7 separate regions of the Homo sapiens genome follow, and all the other regions are linked to region 4. Evidence: promoter capture Hi-C in 16 types of primary human blood cells and fetal thymus (Javierre and others, 2016). All regions are on one chromosome and are shown on one strand. The core of a region is centred on a gene start or on the middle of the fragment in contact, and the rest is flanking DNA. Distances in the headings are between cores, read along the strand shown.

Region 1 (3,822 bases), core at 433-2,932, 200 kb before region 4:
ACAGGGACTCACTGTGTTGCCCAGGCTGGTCTTGAACTCCTGGGTTCAAGCCATTCTTCCACCTTGGCCTCCCAAAGTTCTGGGATTACAGGTGTAAGCCACTGAGCACCTGGCGCTTTTTCAGTGTTGTCTTTTTTTTTTTTCTTTTTGTGATGAAGTTTCGCTTCTGTTGCCCAGGGTGGAGTGCAATGGCACAATCTCGGCTCACTGCAACCTCCGCCTACCAGGTTCTAGCAATTCTCCTGTCTCAGACTCCTGAGTAGCTGGGATTACAGGCTCATGCCACCACGCCTGGCTAATTTTTGTATTTTTAGTAGAGACAGGGTTTCATCATATTGGTCAGGCTGGTCTCCTGACCTCAGGTGATCCACCCACCTCGGCCTCCCAAAGTGCTGGGATTTACAGGCATGAACCACCATGCCTGGCCTCTTTTAAGAACAGGGTCTTACATTGTTGCCCAGGCTGGAGTGCAGCGGCTACTCACAGGTCCACAGCTAATTCTTCAGTACATGTCAAATTGAGAACCATAAAGCAAATCAACAGAAGCATAAAAACAAGAGTTACCTATAATGAGCCTTTAACTAAATCTAATCCCAACACTCCAAAAGCAGTCTGTAGGTTTTAGCCCCGAAGCAAATATTGAAAAGACACACCAAAGAAGAATGTTTCCTGTTGATGGTAACTGGCTTGGGTAAATCACAACCTCTGAGACAATAGCTGACCTGGTAAATGGGAATTTAATACCTGTCCCATGTATCTCAAGATCATTATGAAAAATTAAACAAAACCTATGTATTAAAGACTGCAATTACAATGTCTTCCTTCATAAAATTACTATTATTCCCAGTTTTCAACCCGTGTCTCAAAGTCCAGATGCTTTTCTTATTCAAAATTCCAATTTCTCTAGACTAAAAATTATCCAGAAGCCTCCTGATAGGGTCTGTGACATCTGTATATAAGTTTTAGAACAGATTAGGCCAGGCACAGTGGCTCACGCCTATAATCCCAGCACTTTGGGAGGCTGAGGCGGGCAGATCACCTGAGGTCAGGAGTTTGAGACCAGCCTGACCAACATGGAGAAACCCTGTCTCTACTAAAAATACAAAAATTAGCCGGGCATGTTGGTGTGCACCTATAATCCCAGCTACTCGGGAGGCTGGGGTGGGAGAATTGCTTGAACCCAGGAGGCGGAGGTTGCAGTGAGCCGAGATCACACCATTGCACTCCAGCCTGGGTAACGAGAGCAAAACTCCATCTCACAAAAACAAAAAAGAAAAAAAAAAGTGCAGATTAAACTGCTCAGTTATAATCTCAATGAACTAGTATCACTTAAGAATGGCAAACCATGACCCACATAGCCACAACCAATTTTTATAAATAAAGTGATAGTGGAATATAGCCATGCCCATTTGTTTAAGGAAAAGCTTGCGGACTCCTGACTCAGTGTGTTACCAGTTAGGCAGAGAGCTAATAAGAAACATACAGGCCCAAGCTTTTCACCAAGTTCCTAGGTAATCTTGAGACATGCCAAACTTTGAGAACCACTGCTGTAGATGAGAGATTCTCAAATCTTATTGTGCACATAAATCACCGGAGGACCTTGTTAAAATGAAGATGTTGCTTCTGTAGGTTTGGGGTGAGGCCTGTGCTCCCAGGCGATGCCAATACTGGTAGTCAATGACTACATTTTGAGTAGCAAGAATCCAGAGCAGTGTTTCTCCAATTTGCTGTGCTCTGGAATCACCTGGGTAGCTTTACAAACTACAGAAGCCACCCCAAGAGATTTTTACTTAATTGGTGTGGGTTGTGGCCTGGACGTTGGGATTTTCTTTTTACATTACCCAAGTCATGCTAACGTGCAGCCAAGTTGGAGAAGCTTGAAACTCATCATTCTCGGTAGTTGGCTAAATTTAAGTAGTGGCATTCTCAACATAGCTTCCGCCCCATATATAGCAACCCAACAGCACCCAAGATGAAAACAGGGCTGCGAACATGACAGACTTCAGCCAGCAGACCTACATTCCATCCAAGCTTTGTCATGAACTCTGATCTTAAGCAAGTCACAAATCTGAGTTTCAATTTCTTCACCTAACTAATGAGGACAGGAACCCCTAAGATAATTGCAAGAATAAAATGAGAGAATATTTGTGAAGGTGCTTTGGAAAATATTGTATCTTATAAGTCAACACATACATAACCCCCATTTTTCACTCTGTCTACATTGCCTAAGAGAAATATATTTCACTTTTACCACTAAAACATGTTGAAACAGATGTAAATGTGGTAGCACATACTTAGTTCAATTTCTAGCAGAGTGCATAATGATGCAGTTCCAGGAATGCACTGTCATAAGAGTGGAAGCACCTGTAACAATCGAAGGATTAGTAAAGGATTACCTGCTCCAGGAAGAAGACAAAGGACTGCCATTTCCCAGGGTTGTCAGCACTGCCTTTTGCCATTAACTTCAAATATACTTAATGAAAACAAGGAGGCAGGTTCACAGCTGTAAGTTACCAACTCATAAAGAGTTCAGCACAGAGGACTGAAGAGAAAAAAAGGATTCTGATACCAGCAAAGAATAAAAACAGAGCCAGAGGCATATGGAGGAGTGGCATGGAGTTCTTTAATTTGGAAGGCAAAAGGTTACATTTAATGAAAGGCAGAGGCTGGATTAATAAATGTTTGTTAGAAAGTTGTTCTGACACACAGTGAACTCTGGGCTTTTCTCCTGCATAAAAAGCAGAGCTAGCAGTAAGTGCAAATCTGAAGAAAATCCATGTGTCCAATAAGCTGCCATCTCCAGAACTCTTATCCAGGAAATTCAAAGAGTGAACCTAGAAGAAAAAAGCAGCAAGGTTAAATGTCTTATGATACTAGAGACAGGGCCCCAAATCCTTCCATCTAAATTCTAACCCACAAGACAGTTATGGGGTTCCCACACTCAGGACAATATTTAAACCAGGCGAGAAAAACTAGAAAGAAGCAAGTATTTTTCAAAGAACATTTTATGGGAGTAGTATCCAGAAAAATTAATGTCAAAACTGAATTTCAAGCACATCAAAGCAAAACGAACTAGGAACTGTGAGACATGTGTCCTAACTCCAGCTCTACCATTAATTAGCCGCAAGACTTCACATAAGTCACTGACTTCCCTGGCCCACAAATTCTTTGAGGTGAGAGGGTTGTAGTTTAACCTAAAGAGCTTTCTGGAATCTAAAATGCTTATGAAGCACAGATTTCCATTGGTGGGGAGGCAGGGTAGGGAAGTAAGGATTCAAGAAAGAAAGAAAAATTCCCAATCTCAGCTATAACAAAGGACCAAAATATAAGAAATAATTTAGTTTTCATTTAAAGATAAGTTTATTTTTGGCAAGAAAAAGGTGAAGAAAGAGTAACCGCAACAGAAGTGGCCACATTGCTGCTAGAGCCAAATGGAACTGAGATCTGTAACTTGTGAGGTGGAACCCTCACCACAAGATACAGGCTTCCTTTAGTCCCTCAAAGCACAGCCTCCCACCTACTGGACTCCAGCACAGCTCTGGTTGGAAAGTGACCTCCAGCCTTAGGGGCTCCAATGTCTCCAGCTATAAGCAACTGATTTTCCCAGTGTGCCATAAAAATACTGCAATCTCCTACGTGTACCATGACTCAAAAGAGGCTGGGAAATACTACCTTTCAGAAGAACCGGGCTGCCCCAGGAGGAAAAAGGGCACTACCTTATTTGGTATATTGGGTCAAGTAAGTAACCTGGAGATTCTGGCATCAGAACTTAAAGGAGAGATTTTGGACTTTCAGCCAGAATGCTTTTATTTCACTAACACT
Region 2 (3,638 bases), core at 1,023-3,522, 180 kb before region 4:
AGCACTTTGGGAGGTCGAGGCGGGTGGATAACCTGAGGTCGGGAGTTCGAGACCAGCCTGACCAACATGGAGAAACCCCGTCTCTACTAAAAATACAAAAAATTAGCCAGGCTTGGTGGTGCATGCCTGCAATCCCAGCTACTCAGGAGGCTGAGGCAGAAGAACCGCTTGAACCCGGGAGGCGGAAGTTGCAGTAAGCCGAGATCGTGCCATTGCACTCCAGCCTGGGCAACAAGAGCAAAACTCCATCTCAAAAAAAAAAAAAAAAAAAAAAAAAATCAAGGACAGACCAACAAGACTATAGTGATCAAGGGGAAGGACACAAGGGCCAAATCCTGAGGGGCATGGTAAGCCTCAGAAAACAGTACGGATTCAGTTATAAGAGCGGTGGAACAGTATAATGGTTCGCAAGGTTAAAAAGAGGCAGAAGGCCGGGCGCAGTGGCTCACGCCTGTAATCCCAGCACTTTGGGAGGCCGAGGTGGGTGGATCACAAGGTCAGGAATTCAAGACCAGCCTGGTCAAGAAGGTGAAACCCCATCTCTACTAAAAATAAAATACAAAAAATTAGCCGGGTGCAGTGGCAGGCTCCTGGAATCCCAGCTACTAGGGAGGCTGAGGCAGAAGAATCGCTTGAACTCCAAGGGCGGAGGTTGCAGTGAGCTGAGATCGCGCCACTGCACTCCAGCCTGGCGACACAGTGAGACTGCGTCTCAAAAAAATAAAAATAAAAATAAAAATAGGCCAGGCGCAGTGGCTCACACCTGTAATCCCAGCACTTTGGGAAGCCAAGGCGGGCGGATCACAAGGTCAGGAGATCGAGACCATCCTGGCTAACATGGTGAGACCCATCTCCACTAAAAAATACAAAAAAAAAAAAAAAATTAGCCGGTCATTGTGGCGGGTGCCTGTAGTCCCAGCTACTCGGGAGGCTGAGGCAGGAGAATGGCGTGAACCCGGGAGGCGGAGCTTGCAGTGAGCCGAAATCGCGCCACTGCACTCCAGCCTGGGCAACAGAGCGAGACTCCGTCTCAAAAATATAAAAAATAAAAAGAAGCAGAAGAATTACTTAGGACCCAAAGAGCTCAGGGGAATGGTAGTAAAAATGGACAGAAATAAAGACATACAGGCTATATTTTGGAGAAGACAGAGCTTGCTGATGAAACAGATGCAGGAGATAAGAGAAATCAAGGGACCCCGGAAACTTAAATTTCTTCATTTAAAAACACAACCGGCCGGGCATGGCGGCTCACACCTGTAATCCCAGCACTTTGGGAGGCCGAGGTGGGTGAATCACCTGAGGTCAGGAGTTCGTGACCAGCCTGGCCAACATGGCGAAACCTCGTCTCTACTAAAAATACAAAAATTAGCCGGGCATGGGGGAGCGTGCCTGTAATCCCAGCTACTCAGGAGGCTGAGGCAGGAGAATTGCTTAAACCCGGGAGATGGAGGTTGCAGTGAGCCGAGATTGTGCCACTGCACTCCAGCCTGGGTGACAGAGTGAGACTATGTCTCAAAAAAAAAAAAAAAAAAACCACAACCAACATTGACACCACGTACTAACTGGTGAAGAGGCAGATGGCTGGATGAGCAGGTTTGATCTTGGACATGTTAAGTTCAAGGTACATATCAGACATCAAGTGAAGACATCAAGTTGGCAACTGGATTTACTAATTTGGAATTCGGGGGACAGTTCAAAACTAAAAATATAAAGGAGTAGTTGTAGGTATACAGGTGTTATTTAAGTTTATCTATTTAAAAAAAAATACAAAGTGAAGGTATCTACAACCATGCTCTCAGTCAGAGAAGCGCCCAGCACAAAACAGCAGAAAGGAAAAAGCAGTGAGGTGAGACAGAACAAGCAGGAGAGTGTTGTATTCAAGAAAAAACTTTCCTTTTACACAGAAGCCAATACCTACATTAAATGCTAAACGTTGCAACATGGCAAGAGTAGTTTCAGTGAAGTAATTCAGTGAAGTAGTGAGGACAGACCAATACCAAGAGTGGGTTAAGGAATGAATAGTTAAGGGAGGAAGTAGGAACATTAATTATTCTTTCAAGAAATTCTGTAATGATGGAAAGGAAATGGGATGGTAGCTAGAAGATTATCTGTGGTCAAACGGATTTTTTTTAAATAGACAATATTAGAACATGTTTGTATGATGGGAATGATCCAGGAGAGAAACAGAAATTAATGACACGGAACAGAGGAATAATTGCAGAAGCGGAGTCCCTGAGTGAGCAAGGGAAGACTGGATCCTCTGCACAAGCAGAGCTTTCACAGGAAAGAGACACATCATCCACCATGAGAAGTCAGAGAGTATGGGTATAAAAGTAGGTGATCTGTTATGATTCAGTGGTGAAAAGATGAAGGAATTCTTATCTACTTCTTTTTTTTAGTGAAAAAATAAAAGCAAGATCACCAACTAAGAATAAAGGAAAAGAGGAAAAATAGAGTGATTTATGAAGCCTACTTTAGGAAGGCGAATGTATAAGAGAAATATTATTGCAGGACCACTAGGCAGGGTTGGATGCACATTGTGTTCCCATTCTCACCAATAATTCTCCATCAGCACCATATCCATATTTACTTGTCTGTATTTCCCACTAATTACAAACTCTGTGAGAGTAGAAGCCACGTCTGTGTGCTTCACAGTTGAATTCCCAGCACCTTGGCAGAGAACCTAGCACATCATTGCTCACTATTCCTGACATGACTATAGGCCTGCTCACCATTTAACATATACAGTGTTCAGCACTGAGGATGGAGAGATGAGAAGACAGCCCCTGCCCTCAAGGGCTCACCTTCCAGAGAGAAGGCAGACACCCAAATACAGCACAATGCCATATCTCTCTCACACACACACATACAAGGTGAAAAAGGAATACAGAGGAAAGACCTCAATCTGCTGGAGAGTCAGGGAAGGGTTCCAAAGGGCAATAAGCCAGGCATAGTGCTGTGTGCCTATAGTCCTAGCTACTCAGGAGGCTGAGGCAGGACTGCTTGAGCCAAGGAGTTTGAGGCCAGCCTGGGCAACATAGCAAGACCTTGTTCTCTTTAAAAACAGTAACAAAAAAAAAAGGAAATTGCACTTGAGCTGAGAAGTCTAAAAAGTGAAGGAATTTTGAAGGCAGTCAAGCAAAGGCAAATAGTTTGACACATGAGAGTGTTCAGAGAATGACAAGTAGCTCAATACTGTTGGAGCAGAGTATAGAGGAGGCAGAGGCAAGAGATGAAGCTGCAGACAGCGAGGAAGCCAGATCATGAAAGAGCCTGTATGTCAAAAAAAAAGTTTTAATTTTACTTTGGGAAACACAAATTGTACATGGGAGTGACACAATCAGATTTGCAAGTCAAATCAAGCCTGCAAACACAATAGAAGATGGACTGGAAACCAGAGGCCGGAAGGCCAGTAAGGAGGATTACAGTAGTCTTCATAAGAGATATTGAGAGGCTAAAACAGAGGATGAAAAAGTAGCAATGATATGAAAGATATTTAGAAACAAGACTATCAGGCACATGGGTGGCAAACTTCTAATCTCTCGGATAACAGTTATGAGAGATAATATTAGGATCCACAGATCTGATGGATAATTCCAAAAGAAATGCTGGACCCCAGTCCACAACAGCCTAATAGC
Region 3 (3,644 bases), core at 1,072-3,571, 220 kb before region 4:
CGGGAGCTCAGAGTGCAAACAGACAACTATAGCCTATTGTCACCACGTCATAGTGGAGGTACATGCAAGTTGCAATGGAAGCACAACAGAAGACATGACTAGCCTCCAATTCTCATTGCCTGGTACATACACACATCCTCCACTATACCTTAAGCTCCATGAGGGCAGGACCCTTTTTCATCCTCACAGCTCTACAGCTCAGCACAATGCCTGGCACATAGGTGTCACCAAACAAATGATTGTGGGGAAAAAAATGCCTTCTGGCTAGATGAGTTATGATTTATACATTAACAAATATTCTCTAACAGAGAGAGTTGTTAGACCTCAAAACCAGGAGATTGCAGAATCCATCCAGATGTCTGTGGTGGGAGAAGGCCCATCTCTCAGGGAAGAGCACCTCTGTATTTATCTGTTCATATGTGTGCTTCATCAAAGCCTCTTCTCAGCCATGGTTCAGGCTGAATTTATAAAGCTTGAAACCTATCGTATTTCTCAAGAATCAGAGATCAGAGGTGGAAGGTTTACAATATCTCGATAAGTAAGCAGTACAAATGAGTTCTAGCAGTAAAAAAGAAAGAGGTCTAATGATAAATATATGAAGCCTGTCTCCACTTGAGAGACCTCCTAGAAAAGATTTGTTCTAAGGAAACTTTTCTCCATTAGGAGCAGAATCATCTTGGAAATATACAGCTCCAAGTTGTGTTAGAAAGGTGTGTACAAAGAAGACCAAAAATTCACATTTGGAATAAGGCATTAAAGTTGCCATTGTTTCTAGTAGGGAAACCCTGCAAAGTGTTGGGGCATCGTAGATCCTGCATGTTGACGCCTGCAACTAATCTGCCCCGGAGCTGTTCCGACAGTGGCTGGAGCATTTGCTGCACAGTTGCATAGGTGTTCAACAATTGCCAAAATAAAATGAAGCTATTTCGTGATGATTAGAAAGAAATAATCAGCATCAATGAGGCCTCTGATGCATCTTCAGGAGTGAGTAGGTGGAATGAAGACCTGGTAGGTGAGACTTTTCTCTCTTGTCAGAGAAAGTTTGACTTGGGGGAGCCTGGAAAACAGGGACAGGAGATGGAGTGCCCCAGCCAGGCATGCCCTGCCCAGGTCAGAGTTCTTGTAAAGCACCATCTGATTGTGTGTTTTCTGGTGGCTACAATAAGCTGATTTTTGGAGCAGGGACCAGGCTGGCTGTACACCCATGTGAGTATGACCCTGCAAGTGACCAGTGCAAAAAGAACTGACCACTTGTCTATGAGAAAACAGGTGATGATCTATAGCAAACTTGGGGATATATTGAGAAGCACTCATTTTCCATTCCTACAAGCTCTCTTGGTGACTTAAAATGTTCCCATTTCTCATATGAAACACAGAAGTGCCAAGAGCCAATTGCGTAAATGAAAATCTGAGCAGAATAATTTATAGAAACATAAAAAGAGTTCCAAATAATGAGTGCTTTCAAGTGAAGCTGATAATATCGGCACCAGATAATCTGAACATTCAGGAAATTAGCTAAGTGCCCTTGGGGGAAAGAGATGAGTTAATGGCAAACACAAATTCTCTTTTATTGCAGCATGTAGCTAAATTCCCTGGATTGGCTAATAAACATGGTATGGGGATCCCTACTCATAGAATCTTCCTCTCTGGAGTTAGGAGAGTTTTCAGCTTCCTCCTAAGGGTAAAAGTGGCCCAGACCCCTAACTGAACGGCAAGTATACCACATGCAATTACAAGGTATAGAGGCAGCAATGTAGAGGGAGGCCCACAGACCTGGGGAAAATCTGGGCTCTACTCTCACTGGCTGTTTTCAATAAAGCCTCCACTTTCTCAGCAGCAAAATGACTATAACTACATCATAATAATATGAGATAATGGCCAGAATGTAAAAAGTGATCAATAAGTAGTAGCTTTTCTAAAATATTATTATAATTATTATTATTGAGGCTTTGCTTATACTAAGGTTTACACTATCATAAAGGGAAAGGAGAATCGCTTCCTTGGGAAATAAAAGATGTAAGCAACAAAGACCCAAGGAGCCTTTTAGAATGTTGCTCTGGGACCCCAGTGGCTTCCAGCAGATTAGCATCAAGAAGGTTATCTCAAAGACCTTACCCACAGTGGGGGTACAGCAGTGCTTCCAAGATAATCTTTGGATCAGGGACCAGACTCAGCATCCGGCCAAGTAAGTAGAATGAAGCAGGAGAGCAAGGGAGGACGGACAACTATTTCTTCTTTGTCCAAAATGCCAACTTGAACCCAGGTATTTTCCTCTGTGGGCTCCAAAATGGTTTCTTCCACCCATCCCCAGAAAATCCTCCCATCCAGCTCTCGGTGCTCTGCAGACATCATCCTTAGGCTGGGACCTTAGGAACCATGAGGCAGGCAATGAGCGAGTACTCCTGAACCTTCCACAAACATATCCAAGATACTGCTGCCTGGAATTGAGGTTTTTGTTCTAGGGAATTATTGGTTTATTGAAATCATATGAAGTCACAACCTCAGCCCAGGGAATCACAGCAGAATGGAACAGGAGGAGAACTTTTGTATCAGAAGCGAAATTTCAGTGCAAAAGAGCAGAAGGTTTAGGCCTGGCGTGGTGGCTCACGCCTGTAATCCTAGCACTTTGGGAGGCCGAGGCAGGGAGATCACAAGGTCAGGAGATCAAGACCATCCTGGCTAACACAGTGAAACCCTATCTCTACTAAAAATACAAAAATTAGCCGGGCGTGATGGCACGCGCCTGTAGTCTCAGCTACTCGGGAGACTGAGGCAGGAGAATTGTTGAACCCGGGAGGCAGAGATTGCAGTGAGCTGAGATCGCATCATTGCACTCCAGCCTGGGCAACAGAGCAAGACTCCTTCTCAAAAAAACAAAAAAAAAAAAAAAAAAGAAGGTCTAACCCTTAGGAGTGTGATTATCCTGTTCTCCTGCCTTGTGGGGGAGATCAGTGTTTCTCTTATTTAAGTAATAGGTAGGTCCTGTGAGTTTGTGCAATGGTGTCACCTACGGTATGAATACTGGAGGAACAATTGATAAACTCACATTTGGGAAAGGGACCCATGTATTCATTATATCTGGTGAGTCATCCCAGGTGGCACCACGTGCAACCCCATGGGCCAGTGTCACTAATCCTTTCTCTGGAGATATCACTTATTACTATGGTGAGGCTTGCTGTAGATGTTGTAACTAATTTTCTTACAGAGGTCTGGGAAGGGAAAAGCATTACTATCTATCTTGAATATTCATGTTTCTCTAGGTCAAACACATTAAAATTTGACTTTAATCATTCAATGGGTATTGTAAAATGCCTTCTATGTGACTATCACTCTATAAAATGTTAGACTGAGTATGAAGTGTGAGATAGATTCCTGTCCTGTCCTCAAGTGGTATAAAAACTAGACAAAGGTACTGAACTATTGTAAATTAAGCAGCCAGAAAACTATTTTAGTATTGACCAGTTGATGATGTCAATGGACACAATAGAGATTCAGAGGGGATAGGGTGCTGGCTGAGAAGTTGGCCTAGACTGAGAAGTTTCCTGTGGTACAAAGGATTCATTGAGCCCTGAAGGATGGATAAGATCTGTATGGGCAGAGAAAGGAGAGAAGGGAAGTTCTGGGCGTAGGGAACGACAAGAAAG
Region 4 (3,615 bases), core at 1,106-3,605:
TTTGCCTGTACATTTTAGCTATCTATTATTAAACAACTTAGTGGCTTAAAACTACAATAATTTTATTTATTTGCTTGTAATTTTGCAATGTGGGCTCAAATAGCCTTTCTTTGCTCCACACGCAGTCACCTGAGGTGGCTCCAGTGGGCTGGAGAATCCACTTTTTAAATGGCCTTCTTCACGTGGCTGGCAAAAGTTGGTGTTGACTGCTGGCTGGGAGTTCAACTGAGGCTGTTGGCCCAAACCTCAGTTCTTCTTCACATGGTTGGTTGGGCTTTTCACAGGCAGTAAGTCTGAGAAGTCAAACTTCTAACACAGCAGCTGGCTTCCCCCGAATGCAAAAACAGAAGCTATCAGGCCTTCTTAAGGCATAGTCCCAAACTGGCATAACATCACTTCCAACGCATTCTACTATTGATTAAAGCAAGTGACAGGCCCAATCAGACTCAAGAGAAGAGAACTCCTAAAGGTGCAAATATTGGGAAGCCTGGTTCATTTGGGGCCACCAAAGTAGCAGTGTACTGTAAGATAGTCACCCTGCCAAGTGTTCTGTAGCTGTATATTTGTAATTACTTCTAATTGTATTGAGTTTTAAAAGTAATCTCTAAAAAAAAATCAGTGTTTCCATATCAAAAATCTATTGATGTTTATAATAGCATCCAACATATGCAAGTGTTAGCTCATACCACTAATTATTACTAAATCAGTATTATAGTTCTTTGCCTCCTATTTTCGCCATATCTGTCAGGTACATTCATAATCGTTCCAAATGAGCAGTCACTGAAATAATTTCAGGTTATTGTATCTTTCTGAAACTATAATTTGTTGTTTAGAAAGTAATCTGCATATTGAGAGACTTTGTAAGGGTTCAAACATAATCAAACTCCACCTTTCTGACCAGTAACTTTTTTCCCTGAAGATGAATGCTTTTAACTTCAAGAAACAGAACACCCAAGCAACAGACTTAGAGTCTAAACAGTAAAGACCTTTAATCATCTTTTTTTTTTTTTTTTTGAGATGGAGTCTGTCGCCCAGGCTAGAGTGAGGTGGCTCCACCTCGGCTCACTGCAACCTCCACCTCCCGGATTCAAGCGATTCTCCTGCCTCAGCCTCCCTAGTAGCTGGGACTACAGGTATGCACCACCACGCCCGCCTAGTTATTTTGTTTTTTTGTTTTTTGTATTTTTAGTAGAGACAGGATTTCACCATGTTGGCCAGGCTGGTCTCGATCTCTTGACCTAGTTATCGAGACCACCTCAGCCTCCCAAAGTGATGAGATTACAGGTATGAGCCACTGCACCCGGCCAAGACCTTTAATTAACTTACACAACAAAGTCTGGAGATAGGCAGTTCCAAGCATGGTACAGCAGCTCAATGATATCATCAAGTATTTGGGTGTTTTCTATCTTTGCCCTCAACCATCTTCAGCACGTGAGTTTTTCTTTCCTTTTTTTTTTTTTTTTTGAGACGGAGTCTCGCTCTTGTTGCCCAGGCTGGAGTGCAGTGGCACAATCCCGGCTCACTGCAACCTCTGCATCCCGGGTTCAAGTGATTCTCCTGCCTCAGCCTCCCGAGTAGCTGGGATTACAGGCGCCCACCACCACGCCCGGCTAATTTTTGTATTTTTAGTAGAAATGGGGTTTCACCATGTTGGCCAGGATGGTCTCGACCTCCTGATCTCGTGATCCACCCACCTCGGCCTCCCAAAGTACTGGGATTACAGACCTGAGCCACCGCGCCCGGCCTGCACGTGAGCTTTTCATCTGGAAACTTGTCCCCTCATGGTCAGTCCTCACACCACCCCACTTACAGAAGAAAAAAATGGAAAGGTGAAGTCTCCTCTGGAAGCTTCGTCTTTTTATCTGGGAGGAAAATATTTCCCAGAAGCTGCCTTCTTTTAATTTCTGTCAGACTCTAGACTACCCTCAAATTTCACTGGACCTGCGATTACAATATTACCTAGCAATAAGAATCAAAAGAATCGAACATCATTGAGTGGGAAAAATCCTCTGCAAGTACAGCCAAGCCTTTTCTGAGGCTATTTTTAAACTTACAAATCAGAGGACAATCGCGACATTAGAGGAAAATTACCCAGGTTTACGCCATCACTAACGATGATAGCTTACGATGATAGCTAACCCAGCTCTTCAACTTCCTTTCAATCTCCAGAAAAGGCTCTCTGCGTGCTAATGGTAACGTGGCTTTACAGATTTTTACCCACTTCAAATATGGCCGCCAAGCTCCGTTCTCTTTTACCGCCTGATCTGCGGCTACAATTCTGGCTTCATGCCCGCCTCCAAAAGTGCTTCCTCTCGAGGGGTTGTGGTTCTTACTGCGCAGGCGCAAAAGCAAGTCCTCTTCCGGGCAAAATGGCGATGGGACTAATGTGCGGACGCCGGGAGCTTCTGCGCTTGCTACAGTCCGGGCGTCGGGTAAGGATGCCCCGGGGCAGAGCACCGGGATGCTGCCCTGACCCAGTGAACCAGGCCCCAGGACAGCTCGTGCTAGGGGTATCAGCAGACGCTGACCTGCTCACCGGGACCTGAATGTCATGACCTCGGGTCATGTGAGGACGCGCTAGGGTTAGTCCCCGACACTATGGGCCCAGCAGCCCGGTGTCAGCTTCTGGAATTGGCTTGGCTCCTGGCGAGAGCACCTCGGCCTCGTTCTCAGGGCCCTCCGATGTGGGTCTGCGATAACTGAGATGCGGGGAACCCAGGTTCGAGCTTCGCTCTGCAGGCACCACCCGCTGCATGCCTTCGGGCTAGCGGTCTGCGCGCGGTGATAGCAATGTCCTCCCCTGTAGTGGCCGAGCTGCCTGCTTCTTGGGGAGTTAGCATAATGAATCCCGTTTGCACCCACGCGAGGACTTCTGCTCCCGGTAAAGGGGCTCCATCATCCTTTTACACGCTCAGGTCCACAGCGTCGCAGGGCCCTCGCAATGGCTTGGGAAACCGCTGACCACACGGCTCCTATTCCCAGCAGCCCCGTGCTGCTGTCGCCCACACTACCTCTTCCTTGCGGCTTCCGGCCCCCGCAGCCTCAGTACCTCTGCTATCTCTTTTGCAGAAGTCCAGGTAAGAGGCCTTTCGTTCCTGCAATATTAGGAGTGGTGTTTCCTGGTTGGTTTCATATTTTGTTTTGTTTGGGAGCAGGGGGAATATGGAGCAGAGTTCTTGTCCACGCTCCACACAGCTCTCCAAAATGATAGCATCTCTGCTTAGGATGGATTTTCAATTCAGTGGGGAAATGATTGAAAGTACAACAGGAGAGATGTTATATTTGGTTTTCTGAGCTGTTTTAAAGAAAAGCAATTGTTTCATGTTAATATATGGCAAAAATCATGATAGTGATATTCAAATGGCTGAAGTTTGGAAAACAGTGATAAAAGAAATAACTTCCCAGCATGAAGGGAAGTCATGGATTCTTACTCAAAGTAACTTCTCTTCCTAACTATTGATAAAAATGAGATGTCCTTTTTAAGCTTGAAATCTGCAGACACTAGGCTAACCTGGAAGAACAAGAAGTAGAGAGAACAGAACCCAGTACTGGTTATTATAAAAAGATCTCACTTGCTTTGTGTTCGCTACTGAATAAATATAATACAAGGCTTTC
Region 5 (3,461 bases), core at 855-3,354, 140 kb before region 4:
GCCAGGCACGGGATATAATCTCCTGGGGTGCAGTTTGCTAAGACCATTGGAAAAGCACAGTTTTAGGGTGGGAGTGACCCAATTTTCCAGGTGCCGTCTGTCACCTCTTTCTTTGACTAGGAAAGGGAATTCCCTGACCCCTTGCACTTCCCAAGTGAAGCGATGGCTTGCCCTGCTTCGGCTCACGCTCGGTACGCTGCACCCACTCTCCTGCACCCACTATCCAACACTCCCCAGTGAGATGAACCTGGTACCTCAGTTGGAAATGCGGAAATCACCCGTCTTCTGCGTCTCTCACGCTGGGAGCTGTAGACTGGAGCTGTTCATATTCGGCCATCTTGGCTCCACCCCAAGTGTTTTTCATAGTATAAGTTCAGCATTGTTATGCTAGACAGATCTTTGTCATCATCCTGCTAAATATCACTCTTCACTAGGGTTAAGGAGGAAAGACCTTCCTCATTCCTGGAGAGAATACTAAGGAGGATTAACAGATGTCAGCAGGTGCACAGAGTCTGTTCCCCAACCCACAAGGACCCCATTATCTTGGTTGGTGACTCTGCTAAAGGCCTAGGAGATCTGTAGACTTCACCTTACTGATGGCTGATGCTCCTTCTTCCTGGAATATTCTGAGGCCTAATGGAGAGTTTGTGATAATTCAGCAACCACATATTTTAGTTGGTATATATGTGTCTTAGTCTGTTTCTTCTGCTATAAAGGAATACCTGAGGCCAGGTAATTTATAAAGAAAAGAAAACCTGTCAGTTCTGCAGGCTGTACAAGAAGCATGGCATCAGCATCTGCTTCTGGTGAGGGCCTCAGGAAGCTTCCACTCATGCTGGAAGGGTAAGGGGAGCTGGAGTGTGCAGAGATCACATGACAAGGCAGCGCAGGCCAGAGAGAAACAAGTGAGGTGCCAGGCTTGTTTTAACAATCTCTCCCAGGCACTGCTAGAACAAGAACTCACTCATAACCACACAGACAGCACCAAGCCATTCATGAGGAATCTGCCCCATGACCCAGACACCTCCCATTAGGCCCCATCTCAACATTGGGGATCAAATTTCAACATGAGATTTGAAGAGTCAGATATCCAAACTATAACAATATGAGAACAAATCACACACAACCAGAAGAATCCTGAGACATGCTAGTGGCTGAAAAGGATCCTGAAGGATATGGCGTTAGAGGTGATATTTTCATCTTCTCAGTTTGACCAGCTGACACCATGTGTTGTGTCTGGGAAAAGAATTTTTGAGAGGGCTCACAACTTATGATAGATTTATGGGCCTCTGATAAATTATGAGGTAACTAACACAAAAACTGGGCATCATGTACTTTCTAAAATGTTCAAGGAAAGTGTCCAAATGTAACTGCAAAACCATATATTATAGCAGTGGCTTCCTACATAGATCCACAGACTGGAGCTGGTCCATGATAAAGTATTTCTGGTTCATAACAAAATAGTGCCTTTTTTTTTTTAGTATTTTTAAATTCTGAAATTATATCCTTTCTAACCCTTTCAGGATTAAACTATTGTTATTTTATAAAAAGATGCTGATATTCTACGATTGTTTGGGGGTGAGAGGGAATGTCATTTTTTGTTTCCAAACATATCAATTTTAGAATTTTTTCCTGTATTTGTAATTAATATTATTAAAATCCTAAAGTCTGGGGAGTGCTGGCTATATTACAGAAGACCAGAGTGGGAGAGGAACTTGAATTTTATGACAAGAAGATAGATAAGTCAATCATGTGGATCCCATGACTGGAGGGGACCGTGGAAAGATAACGCTGTTCAGAGGAAGTGAATCTAATTGAAGGGACTCAACAATAGCATGTATGCCAAAAAGGAAACCACAGAACTGAAGGTGGAAATGTTTGGATGGGGATAAAAGGAGAAACAAACAGAAATAGATACTAAGATAATTGGAGGACACAGATGCTGCTTTCTTAGTTCAGACTGCCAAACATCAAAAGCAAGTTACAGTAGTGCCAGAGGTCTCCAAGAATCAGGACACTAACATGAGTCTCTTTCTGCCAGAAGCAGAGCACCTAGTAAATTCTTGCTCTACTCACAATTGCGTTTACTAGAATATTGAAAAAAGATTGTCAGATGTAATTTTTATAGATTTCAGGAAGTCAGATTTCAGAATGTTCCAAGGAAAATTATCTATAGTGCTTAAAAGGGACAGGGCATTCTCAAACATGAAGTTTCAATTGTATCTCAAAGGGTCCTGCTGAGGAAGAATGAAGCGGCTTCAGCAATCAGAAAGCGGCTGCACAGGTTGTTTTCTGATATGATCAAAGTGTGGGCAGAGATGAATGTCAAGTCTTTCACATGAGAAAAATGAACCTCGGCCGAGTGTGGTGGCTCACGCCTGTAATCCCAGCACTTTAGGGGACTGAGGCAGGAGGATCGCTTGAGCCCAGGAGTTCAAGACCAGCCTGGGCAATATGGCAAGACTCCATAGCTAAAAGTAAAAATAAAAATAAAAAATTTAATTAGCTGGGCATGGTGGCATGTGACTGTAGTCCTAGCTACTCGGGAGGCTGAGGCAGAAGGATTGCTTGAGCCCAGAAGTTCAAGGCTGCAGTGAGCTATGAAGCTATGGAGTGCCACTGCACCACAGCCTGGGCAACACAGTCAGACCATGTCTCCAAAAAAAAAAAAAAAAAAGATAGAAAAAAATGAACCAAACTAGTAAAGCAATGGCAGTTGATGTGAAAAGATTAAACCGATGTGAAGGTTTTAGTGGGCTAGAAGCTCTGTTTATGGCAGTAAAGGAATGAAGCTGCCCCAAAAGCTAATGGAAAGCTAGGTCTCATTCCCTGCATTGATTGGGGGACTCAATGGTTTCACTGTAACCTGATTTGAGTGTTGGGTTCAATTCTGAGAACATTTTTCCTTTTTTTAAATGTAAACAAAAATTTTTAATTGTACAAAAATAAGACAAAATTAAAAACACTTTTTAAAAAATCTATAATTATACTACCCACAAATAACCATGTTAAATACATTGGAATATATTCTTTCAGATGATATATATGTTATTATATACATAAATGTATATTTACTAGAATGAGAGCATACTAACAAAGTGCTTTATAAAAATTTTTAACCTTATTGTTATAAATCTCTTTCTATACCAATAAATATAGAATCCATAGAAATATATCATCATTTTTAACTGTTGCATCTTCTTCCACTGTCTGGATTTACTATAGTTCATTTACCTGCTTCTCTGTTCTTGGACTTTAAATTGCTTCCAAATATTTGTATGTTATAAACAATGTGCGCTAAGTCCCTTGTACGTACATATTTGCATATTTGACCAATTATTTCCTTCCTTGAGGTAAGATTGCAGGATTGAAGGGTTTGCAAAATGAAGCTTTTTTTTTTTATTTTGAGACAGAGCCTCACTCTGTCACCCAGGCTGGAGTGCAGTGGCGCGCTCTCGGCT
Region 6 (3,585 bases), core at 1,028-3,527, 140 kb after region 4:
TTGCGGTGAGCCAAGATCACGCCATTGCATTCCAGCCTGGGCAACAAAAGCGAAACTCGGTCTCAAAAAAAAAAGAAAAAATAAGACCCAGTGTTCAACAAATCAGTAGGGTTATTACTACAGTGTACAATAATCTATTATACATTTCAAAATAGCTAGTAGAGAATAATTTGAATGTTTCCTAGCATCATGAAAAGATAAACATTTAGGTCAAGGATAACTCAAGTACACTGATTTGATCTTTACAAATTATATGTATTAAATTTCACACATACCAGAAACTACATACAATATGTATCAATTAAAAATTGTTTAAAAATAAAACAATTACGTACAGTATATACTTCACGATAAAAAGTAATGATGTCACTGATTCATGTATTTACTATATTTATCATTCTAGAATATATTACTTCTACTTCGGTTAACTATAAAACAGCCTTAGGCTGGTCCTTCAGAAGGTGCTCCTAAAGAAAGCACTGTTACAGCAGAGTACAACTCTATGTGTATTAATGCCCTTGAAGACCTTCCAGTGGGACAAGATGTGGAGGTGAAAGACCCTCTGCAGGCCTAGGCTCATGTGTCTTTGTGTCGTAGTTTTCAACAATAACAATAATGTTTAAAAAGTAAAAGACAAAAAAATTTAAAAATAGAAAAAAGCTTATAGAATAAGGACATAAAGAAAACTTGTAGAGTTGTACAATGTGTTTGTGTTTTAAGCTAAATGTTTCAATTTTTTATTTTTATTTTTATTTTTTTTGAGACAGGTTCTCCATCTGTTGCCCAGGCAGGAGTTTAGTGCTGCAATCTCGGCTCACTGCAACCTCGAACTCCTGGGCCCAAGCAATCCTCCAGCCTTAGCCTCCCAAGTAGCTGGGAGTACAAACATGTACTACTACACCTGGGTAATTTTTAAATTTTTTGTAGAGACAGGATTTTGCTATGTTGCCCAGGCTGGTTTTGAACTCCTGGCCTGAAGTGATCCTCCCGCCTTGGCTTCCAAAGTGCTAGGATTAAAGATACGAGCCACTGTGCCTGGCCCAGAATTACTGACCTGCGCTTTCTATCCCTGCTTTTATTATGGCTCCGACTCCTCTTCTTCCTGTGAAAGAGAGTACATTCTTCTTTTTTTTTTTTTAATTTTGAGAAAGAATCTCGCTCTGTCGTGCAGTGGTGCAATCTTGGCTCACTGCAACCTCCGCCTTCCAGGTTCAAGCGATCCTCATGCCTTAGCCTCCTGAGTAGCTGGGATTACAGGCATGTACCATCATGCCCAGCTAATTTTTTATATTTTTAGTAGAGACAAGGTTTCGCTATGTTGGCCAGGTTCATCTTGAACCCCTGGCCTCAAGTGATCCACCTGCCTCAGCCTCCCAAAGTGCTGGGATTACATGCATGAGCCCCGCGTGAGCACCGCGCCAGGTCAGGAGTGTAAATTCTTAAAGAGAAGGTTTCGTTATTGCTGCCAAAGAAAAGGAATTACAGTAAGGCCAGAATGAAACAGAAAGCATGAAAAAACCAAAGACCCGAAGATGATCCAGCAGTGGTTCACAGCAATTGCACAATACCAACTTACAGCCCTGAAAGCTGTCAGGCATCTGAAGAGGCCATTTTTCCCCCTAATGCGAAGCAAAACCTGGTGTTTCCAAATCAGGGGTCCTCTTGCTATTTTTTTTTTTTTTGAGACAGAGTCTCACTCTGTTTCCCAGGCTGGAGTGCGATGGTGCGACCTCGGCTCACTACAACCTCTGCCTCCCATGTTCAAGCAATTCTCCTGCCTCAGCCTCCTGAGTAGCTGGGATTACAGGAGCCTGCCACCGCGCCCAGCTAATTTTTGTATTTTTAGTAGAGACGGGGTTTCACCATGTTGGTCAATCTGGTCTCGAACTCCTGACCTCAGGTGATCCACCCACCTCGGCCTCCCAAAGTGCTGGGATTACAGGTGTGAGCCACCACGCCCAGCCCCTCTTGGTATTTTATTCAAATGAAGTATATTGATGCTAGGACTAATCCACAAATCTACACTGGAAAATGAAGACTAGATAATTAAATCAAGTCACCATTATTCTCATGACCTAGGTGGAGCCATTACTAACAGTCAGCAGTCTTAACAGAAACAATCTCCCTATTCTGGTTATTTTTCCAATGGACAAAACTGTTTCCCTTCCCCAAGTTGCCAACCCATTTCTTCCTCCCACACTCACTTGCTTGTCTCCCCGATGGTGCTGCTTCCACTGGTCTCATTGCCACTGTTGCTGGTGCTGCTGGTGGTATTGCTAGGATAATCCTTTTTAACTTCTTTCCTTTGTTGCTCATCCTGAGGCATTCACCAGGAAAATGTCACAAGGTATAAGGTGGCAGACACACAGATTCCAATGGGCAAAGGGAACAAAGGTGGACAAGGAATAAATCAAACCACTTGATTATCTAGCCAGATTTTCAGCACCCTTATTTCCTAACAAAGGGAGTAAGAAAGGAATCAAGGAAACTACCTAAAAGGAAGAGATCAGCATGACAGATTTTGATGTCAAACTTCAGTTACCCAACATCTGCTCCACTAACATTTCCCAGGAGAGTTACAAATTGGTGCTAGGCTGGGGGCAGTGGCTCACGCCTGTAATCCCAGCACTTTTAAAGGCTGAGGCAGGCGGATCAATTGAGGCCAGGAGTTTGAGACCAGCCTCGCCGACATGTCGAAACCCCATCTCTACTAAAAATACAAAAATTAGCCAGGCATAGTGGCACACGCCTGTAGTCCCAGCTACTTGGGAGGCTGAGGCAGGAGAATCATTTGAATCTGGGAGGCAAAGGTTGCAGTAACTGGGATTGTACCACTGCACTCCAGCCTGGGCAGCCTAGTGAGACTCTGTCTCAAAAAAAAAAAAAAAAAAAAAAAAAAGAGGCTGGGCGCAGTGGCTCACACCTATAATCCCAGCACTTTGGGAGGCCAAGGCAGGCGGGTCACCTGAGGTCAGGAGTTCCAGACCAGCCTGACCAACATGGAGAAACCATCTCCACTAAAAAGACAAAATTAGCCAGGGGTGGTGGCACATGCCTGTAATCCCAGCTACTTGGGAGGCAGGAGAATCGCCTGAACCCGGAGGCAGAGGTTGTGGTGAGCTGAGAACGCGCCACTGCACTCCAGCCTGGGCAATGAGTGAAACTTCATCTCAAAAAAAAAAAAAAAAAAAAAAAAAGAAAGGAAAAAAGAAAGCGGTGGGGGGGAAAGGAAGGGAGAAGGAGGGAGGGATGGGAGGAGAGGGCAGAGGGAGGGAAAAGCAAGCAAGCAAGCAAGCAAATTGCTGTTAAGTGGGCCAGGTGCAGTGGCTCACTCCTGTAATCCCAGCACTTTGGGAGGCCAAGGCAGATCGCTTGAGCCTGGGAGCTCGAGACCAGCCCAGGCAACATAGCAAGACCCTGTCTCTATAAAAAATATATTAAAAAAGAAACTGGGACGGGCGCAGTGGCTCACGCCTGTAATCCCATTACTTTGGAAGGCCAAGGTGGGTGGATCATAAGGTCAGGAGATCAAGACCATCCTGGCCAACATGGTGAAACCCCGTCTCTACTAAAAATACAAAAATT
Region 7 (3,698 bases), core at 683-3,182, 250 kb before region 4:
AGCCAAGATCATGCCATTGCACTCCAGCCTGGGCAACAAAAGCGAAACTTCATCTCAAACAAACAAACAAGCTCAGGCAAGTAGAGGCCAGTGATTAACACTCTTCCAATAGGAACAGATCCCAAGCAACCTGCAGTAGTTTTTCCAGTAGGCTCGTGAACTCAAAACACCAAGTTATTTAAATGACAGGGCAACCGTTGTGATCAGCTGTCATTTGAGTAGTGCTGAGGACTGGGTCTGACCTTGAGTAAACGCCTAGGCTGGTGGGTTTCTATCCCTGCAGCATCTAAAGCGGACGCCCAGGCTTCACTGACCCCAGCAGTCTGGCTTTCTGCCCTTGCCGCCCAGGAGGTGCAGCTCTTGGCACACACCATCCTTAGTGTCTTGAAAGAAGAGAAATTAAAAGAGAAAGGGGGAAAAGCTTATATCTCATATCATGCAGTTGCCTCATTTTGTAGCAAGATTGTTTCCCCATGAGCAGTTTGTCTTCATTCAGCAGCTGTCTTCTCTGGGGAAGCCATTTTGTAGAGGTGTTTGTCACAGTGTGACAACTGACAGCTGGGGGAAATTCCAGTTTGGAGCAGGGACCCAGGTTGTGGTCACCCCAGGTAAGCCCCATTCCCTGGAGCCTCACCTGCCCTTAGTATTTGGCATGCCCTGCATGCCAAATATTTCTAGCCGAGACTATGAGAAACACATCTGAAAGGAAGCCATTTCCCTGAACAGCAGTACCCAAAGCCATTAAGCAAAAATGAGAGATCAGACTGGTGTTAAATAGAAACGTTTTTGGATAAATAGTAATTCTCATTATTCTCTATCAGTCTCCTGTGTGAATACCCTTATTTCCCTTATAAGGAAAAAAGTTACAATAAGCAGGATAGCCATGATTCATGCTGTGGTGTGGGAGCAATCTGCTGTGGATTTGGGGGTGGAGGATTAGAAATGTGTTCAGGCAGACTGGATGTGTTTTTGACAGGATATGTAACACAGTGTGATTTATAACCAGGGAGGAAAGCTTATCTTCGGACAGGGAACGGAGTTATCTGTGAAACCCAGTAAGTATAAAATTGTATCCCTGGATTAAGCAATGTCTGTGGATTAAGGGCTGATTTAGACCCAATTATACACCATATGAAGAATGTTTAGAGAGGGGGATGAGCATCAAATAGGAAGCCAATCGTCGTCCTGGCTAGGATCTAGCATCTCAGTGCAAAATGGGCTATGTAAGTGTGCCTCTGGGAATTGCTCCTGAATATATGTGTTGGGACTAAAATGTATGACTGGCTACTTGTTGTATTGGCTGGGATCATATCCCTGGATTTGTGCAGTAATTGGTGACAAGATTTCTAATTCCTTAACAAACCTTCTAAGGCACTATTCTATTTGGCTAAGATTATGTCAATTTATAGAAGGAAAGAACCTTGTAAATAATGATCATTAACCAAAAGTAATGTGATTAGTCTCTCTCAAAGTCTGAAAAACCACTTTTTTTTAAAAAGTTTACTCATGACTACTGAGGGACACTTCCTGTTTCTGAGACTTTCAGCCAAAAATTCGTACAGCGTAGCCTCACGGAGCAGAGAGAACCTTGACAACATTCCTTTTTGACTTTCTCCATGGATGAGAAAACTGAGGCTCAGGGAAGAGACAGATCCCGGCCCCACAGCCAGTCTATGGCTGAGCTAGAACTAGATTTTAGGTCTCTAATTTGCCAAACCTGTCAGTTGGCTCAAACTTGAAGTTTGAAGAGTCCGCAAGATTCATCTGACAAATATTTTCATGTACTTGCCCTCTGCCAGGCTCGTTGCTGAAACCAGGGATCCAACAGGAAGCAAACTCAGTGTGATATTGCCTTCATGAAACTTACATTCTGGAGGTGGATTCCATGTTTCTTCCCAGATATGACAATGCTTACCCTGATTTCTCTTGGGCATGGCTCTCTTATACTATCATCACTTCCTTAGGAAATACTAAAACTAATTTTTGCTGCAGTTTAAAGTCCTTGAGCAGATAACTAACACACATACCACTTTAGTCAGGAGAAGGGAAATGCCCAAAAGTGAAGTAGAAAACTAGGAATTTGTCTGATAATTGATTATTATAAAGTTATTTTATCAGTGTGAAATGAGTGGCCAAATTAACTGGACAATGCCAGCTCTGTACCTACCTCACTTTGATTCTATAGACTCAGTCTCAGGAGGATTCAAGAATTCAGACAGTTCTCTGATGACATAATCCAGTGATGCCCACAACAGAGGAGGCGTATTCTCTATTCTGGACTTTGTGAGTCTCCTTGGATGAAAAGATTCAAGTGCTGTTTTGACACCTAAAATCAGAGAGTATTTGCTCTATACATATATCGAAAATACACAGTTAATGTTTAGAACTTTGTAGTGGAAAGTGGAAAGCAAAGGTCCCCTAAAAGAAAATGGGATTGTAAAGACGAAGGAGGGTTAGTTTAGGATTTGTAGAAAGTCAGTTTGGCTACTCCAGACCAAACCTAGATTAACAGTGATGCAGGCCTAATTCATAAAGGAAGCACTGCCAGCTCTTTATTCAGTGCTTTGCCAACCTGGCCTGTTTGATCTGGTTTTTGTTGTTGAGCAAATCATAGTGTTTCTTCTGGTTCTGCAAGGCAACTGACCTTTGGATCTGGGACACAATTGACTGTTTTACCTGGTAGGCTGCCTCAATTAAATACTATTTGCACTGATTTACTAATCTACAAATGTATTCTGTACATGTAACTTAATGGGCCTGAGGTTGAAGATGGGGAGAGACAGCAACAATGCATACTAGAAAGGGTAATGCGAGCAGAGAATTATTTATCAGAGACCAAGAAGAGAAAGAGAAGCTTTTTGCTAAGGCTTTTAGTAATAGGAGTTAATGAAAATGAATAGAAAAAAATTTCATTTTAACTTAGAAGAATTGCTGAATAATGGGAACAGATTCCATAAGGGGAACCTCTGCTTCTGAAAATATTTGCACTAGGACCAGCCTACGTGCTACAAAAACTGTCTCACACCAAGTCTAGTTGGTCACTTACATTTTTAGCCTATTCTAGTAGCTATTTCTAAATAAGTCTTTAAACATAGAGGTGCCTATATTTAAGATATTTAAATGAGGCTCTATTTCTATAGCTCTCTGGTGCCCTTCCAGCAAAGCATTGCTGTAACACATTGCTTATCATTTCTACAAGTGAGAACAAGTAAGCCCCTGGCCCTCCAAAATTGCATGAGTATTATAATTACTTGGCTTAGATTGAAGTCACTTCTGTGTTACTTCTCATAACTGTGTTCATTTGTTGAGATCTGTTTAACTCCAAACTGTGTGGGCGTCTAACTGTTGGCACTAAGGTTTCTTTTCTCTTGAAATTGCCAGCAAAATATTTTACCCATAAATAATGTTTCATCTAGACTTGCAAATGACAACTAACACTGCAGGCTCTTTTTTTTTCTTTTGCTTTGTTTCTTTTTTTCTGAAGGGAATATGCAAGCAGGAAGCAAAAAAAAAAAAAAAGCCAAAATGTACAGTTTGACTGTGGGGTCTGGGAGGAGAGTGTCAATGTGGATGCTAAAATATACATGGTTGTATAATGTAGGTACTGTCACAGAGAGGCTATAGTGATCTTATTAGATCATACATACAGAGCACCACTGGTCAGCTGGCGTTGCTCGGGGTGTCCTTAAGAAAAGCTC

What was found. Contacts are between HindIII fragments. The CHiCAGO score rates a contact against its expected background, and 5 or more counts as called.
Region 1: a contact is called between a fragment that was not itself captured here and the fragment with the promoter of OXA1L in region 4, in 10 of 17 cell types (megakaryocytes, M1 macrophages, M2 macrophages and 7 more). The highest score is 16.3, in megakaryocytes.
Region 2: a fragment that was not itself captured here is called in contact with the fragment with the promoter of OXA1L in region 4 in 5 of 17 cell types (M1 macrophages, megakaryocytes, erythroblasts and 2 more); the score reaches 7.2 in M1 macrophages.
Region 3: a fragment that was not itself captured here is called in contact with the fragment with the promoter of OXA1L in region 4 in 5 of 17 cell types (M1 macrophages, megakaryocytes, M2 macrophages and 2 more); the score reaches 7.6 in M1 macrophages.
Region 5: a contact is called between a fragment that was not itself captured here and the fragment with the promoter of OXA1L in region 4, in 2 of 17 cell types (endothelial precursors and M1 macrophages). The highest score is 5.7, in endothelial precursors.
Region 6: a fragment that was not itself captured here is called in contact with the fragment with the promoter of OXA1L in region 4 in 1 of 17 cell types (monocytes); the score reaches 5.2 in monocytes.
Region 7: a contact is called between a fragment that was not itself captured here and the fragment with the promoter of OXA1L in region 4, in 3 of 17 cell types (M1 macrophages, endothelial precursors and M0 macrophages). The highest score is 6.0, in M1 macrophages.

What each region holds. Positions count from the first base shown.
Region 1 is chr14:22,562,304-22,566,125 of GRCh38, forward strand. It overlaps DAD1 (defender against cell death 1), which reads right to left. Exons shown (of 3, transcript NM_001344.4): 3 at 2,604-2,834. Among named protein-coding and RNA genes, the nearest start is that of LINC02332, 7.2 kb to the left of the region's middle. The HindIII fragment of the contact is 384 bases long and covers 1,491-1,874 here.
Region 2 is chr14:22,581,492-22,585,129 of GRCh38, forward strand. The region is part of intron 1 of DAD1 (defender against cell death 1); the gene reads right to left. Among named protein-coding and RNA genes, the nearest start is that of DAD1, 5.9 kb to the right of the region's middle. RefSeq lists an enhancer at 804-1,305. The HindIII fragment of the contact is 4,923 bases long and covers 1-3,638 here.
Region 3 is chr14:22,541,056-22,544,699 of GRCh38, forward strand. It overlaps TRA, TRAJ4, TRAJ3 and TRAJ2. Among named protein-coding and RNA genes, the nearest start is that of LINC02332, 14 kb to the right of the region's middle. The HindIII fragment of the contact is 3,702 bases long and covers 471-3,644 here.
Region 4 is chr14:22,764,333-22,767,947 of GRCh38, forward strand. It overlaps OXA1L (OXA1L mitochondrial inner membrane insertase), which reads left to right and starts at 2,356. Exons shown (of 10, transcript NM_005015.5): 1 at 2,356-2,432; 2 at 2,916-3,077. The coding sequence starts at 2,370. It overlaps OXA1L-DT (OXA1L divergent transcript), which reads right to left and starts at 2,230. Exons shown (of 3, transcript XR_001750638.3): 1 at 2,092-2,230. RefSeq lists enhancers at 951-1,514, 1,515-2,077, 2,078-2,641, 2,235-2,464. The HindIII fragment of the contact is 1,636 bases long and covers 1,847-3,482 here.
Region 5 is chr14:22,621,413-22,624,873 of GRCh38, forward strand. No RefSeq gene overlaps it. Among named protein-coding and RNA genes, the nearest start is that of OR6J1, 21 kb to the right of the region's middle. The HindIII fragment of the contact is 2,566 bases long and covers 822-3,387 here.
Region 6 is chr14:22,907,279-22,910,863 of GRCh38, forward strand. RBM23 (RNA binding motif protein 23) reads right to left here. Exons shown (of 14, transcript NM_001077351.2): 3 at 2,205-2,317; 4 at 1,055-1,102. Among named protein-coding and RNA genes, the nearest start is that of RBM23, 10 kb to the right of the region's middle. The HindIII fragment of the contact is 3,239 bases long and covers 659-3,585 here.
Region 7 is chr14:22,519,424-22,523,121 of GRCh38, forward strand. It overlaps TRA, TRAJ24, TRAJ23 and TRAJ22. Among named protein-coding and RNA genes, the nearest start is that of LINC02332, 36 kb to the right of the region's middle. The HindIII fragment of the contact is 1,839 bases long and covers 1,014-2,852 here.